Regions from separate parts of the Homo sapiens genome. Here region 2 is linked to region 1. The links are contacts of gene promoters, found by promoter capture Hi-C in human tissues and cell types (Jung and others, 2019). All regions are on one chromosome and are shown on one strand. Each heading gives the region's core, a stretch centred on a gene start or on the middle of the fragment in contact. The rest is flanking DNA. Distances are from core to core; before and after follow the strand shown.

The links. The method cuts DNA at HindIII sites, captures the fragments that hold promoters and counts their contacts. A contact is called where the count stands out against the background at its distance.
Region 2: a contact is called between a fragment that was not itself captured here and the fragment with the promoter of ARHGAP24 in region 1, in 1 of the 25 tissues and cell types used here (dorsolateral prefrontal cortex).

Annotation. Positions count from the first base shown.
Region 1 is chr4:85,473,719-85,476,418 of GRCh38, forward strand. ARHGAP24 (Rho GTPase activating protein 24) reads left to right here and starts at 1,432. Exons shown (of 10, transcript NM_001025616.3): 1 at 1,432-1,841. The HindIII fragment of the contact is 7,943 bases long and covers 1-2,700 here.
Region 2 is chr4:86,020,447-86,023,146 of GRCh38, forward strand. The region is part of intron 13 of MAPK10 (mitogen-activated protein kinase 10); the gene reads right to left. Among named protein-coding and RNA genes, the nearest start is that of MAPK10-AS1, 98 kb to the right of the region's middle. The HindIII fragment of the contact is 3,411 bases long and covers 1-2,700 here.

The DNA of each region.
Region 1 (2,700 bases), core at 182-2,681:
AATTGGAAAATAAGCTACATTACTTCTAGCTTAGGAATTCCATACATATTTTTAAAATGAAATATGAAACGCAATTTTTTCCCCACACAAATTAATTTGATTCATTAAAGGGCTGAGAATTCTCCCACCAGAAAATCAAGTTTATAGTAGGACCTCAGCATGGGATGGGGTAGATTCGTTTCTCCAAGAACTTGGAGAAAGAGGACAAAAAGGAAAAACATATCAGTGTCCACTCAGCCTTTTATTTTTGGTGTTTCTAAAACTAAACATTTGCTCTTCTTCCATATCCCTCTCTCACTGGAGATCCCTAGTGAGGACACCCCCATTCTGTGTCTTAAGGATATCTGGTGATGATTTCTAAAAGAGAGTTTCTTTTATTAGTAGTAGCAGTAGTAATTGTTCGAGACGGGGGTGTCACTCCGTCACCTAGGCTGGAGTGCGCTGGCACAATTATAGCTCACTGCAGCCTTGACCTCCTGGGCTCAAGGGATTTTCCCGCTTCAGCCTCCTGAGTAGCTGGGACTACAGACATACGCCGCCACGCCCAACTTTTTTTTTATTTTTTTAATTTTTTTTTTATAGAGACAGGAGTCTCATTATGTTGCCAATTTTGGTCTGAAACCCCTGGGCTCAAGCGATCCTCCTGCCTCAGCCTTCCAAAGTGCTAGGATTGCATGACTGATCCACTGTAAGTGGGTTTCTAAAACAGAGATCTTTACAAAGCTTTTTGAAATAATTTGACTCAGCATGCCAGGTAACCAGAACTGTAAGATCACAATTTGAAACAGACATTGTGGTGATGGTGGGAAGAGACGGCCTGCATCAAAACAATGTTTACTAGTTTGTCCTTTTGTCCCATATTGTGTAACTCCGAGAGTTCTTACACCACCGTAAGAAAGTAATTATACTTTGAATTTCTCTAAGGCTCTAGTTAGAGAGCATCCATCTAAATGTGCATTTCCAGGAATATTGCTTTAATGGCCCAGGTAATTCTAATTGGAGAAATAAAATGTTAGCGAGACAGAGTTGGTAGAAGCAAGTAAAACCGGTGTATGGGGTTTGGCCAATGAAATGCAGAGCTCCTTGAGGGCAGGAGACATGTATTCACCAACCTTCTCGCGCCCACAGCCCCAGATCTGTGGCCAACAAGTATCTATGATGCACTTGAAAGGAACGAGCGATGCCAGATGCGGAGGAACCAGGCAGGGCGCATTCTGTCAGTGGCGCCAGGCGGTGTAGCTCCAGCTCTCAGATAACCCAGGCTTTGGGAGGGCGGGGCTCCTGCCGGCCTCCCCTGTAGTGCGGCTCGAGTCCTGTGAAGCTACCAGTTGCCAAATGAAATCTGAAACCTCGAGCTGTGTCTGAGGGTTGGCCCCACTCAGTTGTTCCAGCCTCTTGTACTGTATATTTACACATTCACACACAATCACCCTTTCTAACTTCTGGGACTCTTTGCGCAACTGCTAGGATTTCTCAAGTGCATGTGGCAACACAGCCCAGCTCCGGGTGGAAACCAGCAGGGCTCTGGAGGGGCTCGGAGACCAGGGGAGCTGTCAAGGCTGCGGCGGGGACCAGAGAGGAGCCTGGCGGGGGTGGCTGGGTGGCTGGGGGAATCCCCCCAACTTCCCATCGCAGGCGCAGCTCTCTCGGCCGCCTATTTCCTCCGAAACCCGCGCTGCGGAGCAGCCCAGTGCATAGAGTTCAACACTTCCCCTTGTTGTGGAAAGTAAAGGAGCCTCACTACCACCTTTTTTTCTTTGCGTTTTCTTACTGCTGGTCCTGGGAGCCTTTTCCTTCGGAGCAGCAGCCCTGTCCGGCATCTGTCTTGAGCTCCCAGCAAGGTAGGTGATGCGGTCGCGAGGAAGTGCGCGGAGCTACCGCGGGAAGGACGGACGCGGCTGCCTGCGCCAGGGGAGGGGGCTGCGGGGGGCGGGGAGGGGGCTGCGGGGGGCGGGGAGGGGGCTGCGGGGGGCGGGGAGGGGGCTGCGGGGGGCGGGGAGGGGGCTGCGGGGGGCGGGGAGGGATCGCAGGAATCCCGTGCTGATGTAGCCTGTCTGTGTTTGTGTGTGTGTGTGCGCGCGCGCGCATGTTTGTGCCGGGAGACAGCAAGCTGGTAGTATGTCTTTCTGGCTTTAAAAATAGATGGAATTAATAAAAACCCTTTGTACAATTCAATTTCCTCTCTTGGTATCCATCCTCCCCTTCCCCTTGTTTGTTTCCTCTAGTATCTTATAGGAGTTCCCTATGTAACAGGCGCACAAAGATAGGTTTTAATAATAAGCATATATATTTGCAAAAATATATATTTTATATGTATAAAATATGTTTTAAAATATTTATAAATATATTACATATTAGAAATATATATTATAAAATATATACATATATTTGTAAACACAAAACGTTAGGGAATCTTTGGTGAATTTGAAGCCACTCAAAAGATTTTGTCCAAATGTTTTTAAAAATAACATTTAATGATAAACATGTAATATGGTCTCGTTTTTAGAAAATACTTAAGACTACATTTATTTTATACGTACCCAAATAGAAGGGAGACAATGTTACTCTGAATTCCTTAGATAGATTTTCAGCATCAACCAGTAATAGGGAGCCCAGACTTCTTTGTAGACTATATCTCGTTTAATTCATTTGAATTAAACAAGTAATTTCTCCAAGTAATTTCTGTTTCCAGCACATTTT
Region 2 (2,700 bases), core at 98-2,597, 550 kb after region 1:
CCTAGAAGTGGAATTGCTGGGGCATAGAGTAATTCTAGCTTTAACACTTGAGGAACTGACAAACTGTGTCCGGAATTGGTGGGTTCTTGGTCTCACTGACTTCAAGATTGAAGCCGCGGACCCTCGCGGTGAGTGTTACAGCTCTTAAGGTGGCGCGTCTGGAGTCTGTCCCTTCTGATGTTCAGATGTGTTCGGAGTTTCTTCCTTCTGGTGGGTTCGTGGTCTCGCTGGCTCAGGAGTGAAGCTGCAGACCTTCACGGTGAGTGTTACAGCTCTTAAGGCAGCGAGTCTGGAGCTTTTCGTTCCTCCCAGTGGGCTCGTGGTCTCACTGGGGTCAGGAGTGAAGCTGCAGACCTTCGTGGTGAGTGTTACAGCTCATAAAAGCAGCATGGACCCAGAGTGAGCAGTAGCAACATCTACTGCAAAGAGCAAAGAACAAAGCTTCCACACTGTGGAAGGGGACCCAAGTGGGTTGCCAATGCTGGCTCGGGCAGCCTGCTTTTATTCTCTTATCTGGCCCCACCCACATCCTGCTGATTGGTAGAGCCGAGTGGCCTGTTTTGACAGGGTGCTGACTGGTGCATTTACAATCCCTGAGCTAGATACAAAGGTTCTCCACGTCCCCATCAGATTAGATACAGAGTATCAACACAAAGGTTCTCCAAGGCCCCACCAGAGCAGCTAGATACAGAGTGTGGATTGGTGCACTCACAAACCTTGAGCTAAACACAGGGTGCTGATTGGTGTGTTTACAAACCTTGAGCTAGATACACAGTGCCGATTGGTATATTTACAATCCCTGAGCTAGACATAAAGGTTTTCCAAGGCCCCACCAGAGCAGCTAGATACAGAGTGTCGATTGGTGCACTCACAAACCCTGAGCTAGACACAGAGTGCTGATTGGTATGTTTACAATCCCTGAGCTAGACATAAAGGTTCTCCAAGGCCCCACCAGAGCAGCTAAATACAGAGTGTCGATTGGTGCACTCACAAACCTTGAGCTAAACACAGGGTGCTGACTGGTGTATTTACAATCCCTGAGCTAGACATAAAGACTCTCCACGTCCTCACCAGACTCAGGAGCCCAGCTGGCTTCACCTAGTGGATCCCGTACCAGGGCTGCAGGTGGAGCTGCCTGCCAGTCCTGCGCTGTGCGCTCGCATTCCTCAGCCCTTGGGTGGTCGCTGGGACTGGGCGCCATGGAGCAGGGGGTGGTGCTCGTCGGGGAGGCTCGGGCTGCACAGGAGCCCATGGAGTGGGTGGGAGGCTCAGGCATGGCGGGCTGCAGGTCCTGAGCCTTGCCCCGCAGGAAGGCAGCTAAGGCCCGGCGAGAAATCGAGCACAGCGCCGGTGGGCCGGCACTGCTGGGGGACCCAGTACACCTTCCGCAGCCACTGGCCCGGGTGCTAAGTCCCTCACTGCCCGGGGCCAGCAGGGCTGGCTGGCTGTCCCGAGTGCGGGGGCCCGCCAAGCCCACGCCTACCTGCAACTCCAGCTGGCCCGCAAGCGCCGCACGCGGCCCGGGTTCCCGCTCGTGCCTCTCCCTCCACACCTCCCTGCAAGCTGAGGGAGTGGGCTCCAGCCTTGGCCAGCCCAGAAAGGGGCTCCCACAGTGCAGTGGGGGGCTGAAAGGCTCCTCAAATGCCGCCAAAGTAGGAGCCCAGGCAGGGGAGGTGCCGAGAGCAAGCGAGGGCTCTGAGGACTGCCAGCACGCTCTCACCTCTCAAAACTGTTTTCTAAAGTGGGTGCACCATTTTACATTACTACCAGCAGTATATGAGGATTCCAATTTCTCTACATCCTCACCAACACTTATTATCTGTCTTTTTATCTAGCCATCCTAGTGTGCATGAAATGGTATCTCATTGTGGTTTGATTTGCATTTGCCTGATAGCTAATAATGTTGAGTATATTTTTTCATGTGCTTGTCAGCCATTAGTATATCTTCTTTGGAGAAAGTTTACTCAGCTCCTTTGGCCATTTTTTAATTGCTTTATTTTCTTTTTATTATTGAGTTGTAAGCTCTTTAGCTCTTTCTTCCTTTCTTTCTTGCTTTCTTTCTTCTTTATTTCTTTTTTTAAGGACAGGGTCTCAGTCGCCCAGCCTGTAGCACAGTGGCATAGTCATGTTTCACTGTATCCTCTAACTCCAGGGCTCAGGCAATTCTCCTGCCCCAGCCTCCCAAGTAGCTAGGACTACAGGCACATACCACCACACCTGGCTAATTAAAAAAAAGATTTTTTGTAGAGACAGGAGCTTGCCATGTTGCCCAAGCTGGTCTCAAACTCCTGGCCTCAAGTGATCTTCCGATTTCTGCCTCCCAAAATGCTGGGTCTACAGGCATGAGCCACTGTGACAGGCCTGTAAGAGCTCTTTATATAATCTGGGTACAAGTTACTTAATGAGATATGTATTTTCAAATGTTTTTCCTCTATGCTATGGTTTATCTTTTCATTTTCTTGAAGGTGTCTTTTGAAGCACACATATTTTTAATTTTTATGAAATAGCATTTATCTGTTGTTTCTTTTATCACTTGTGTTTTAGTGTCATATCTAATAAACCATTTTCTAATCCAAGATTATAAAAACTTACTCCTATGTTTTTGCCTAAGAGTTTTATAATGTTAGACCTTATACTTAAGTCTATGATTCATTTTTAGTTCATTTTTGTATATGATATGAGGCAGGGGCCCACCTTCAT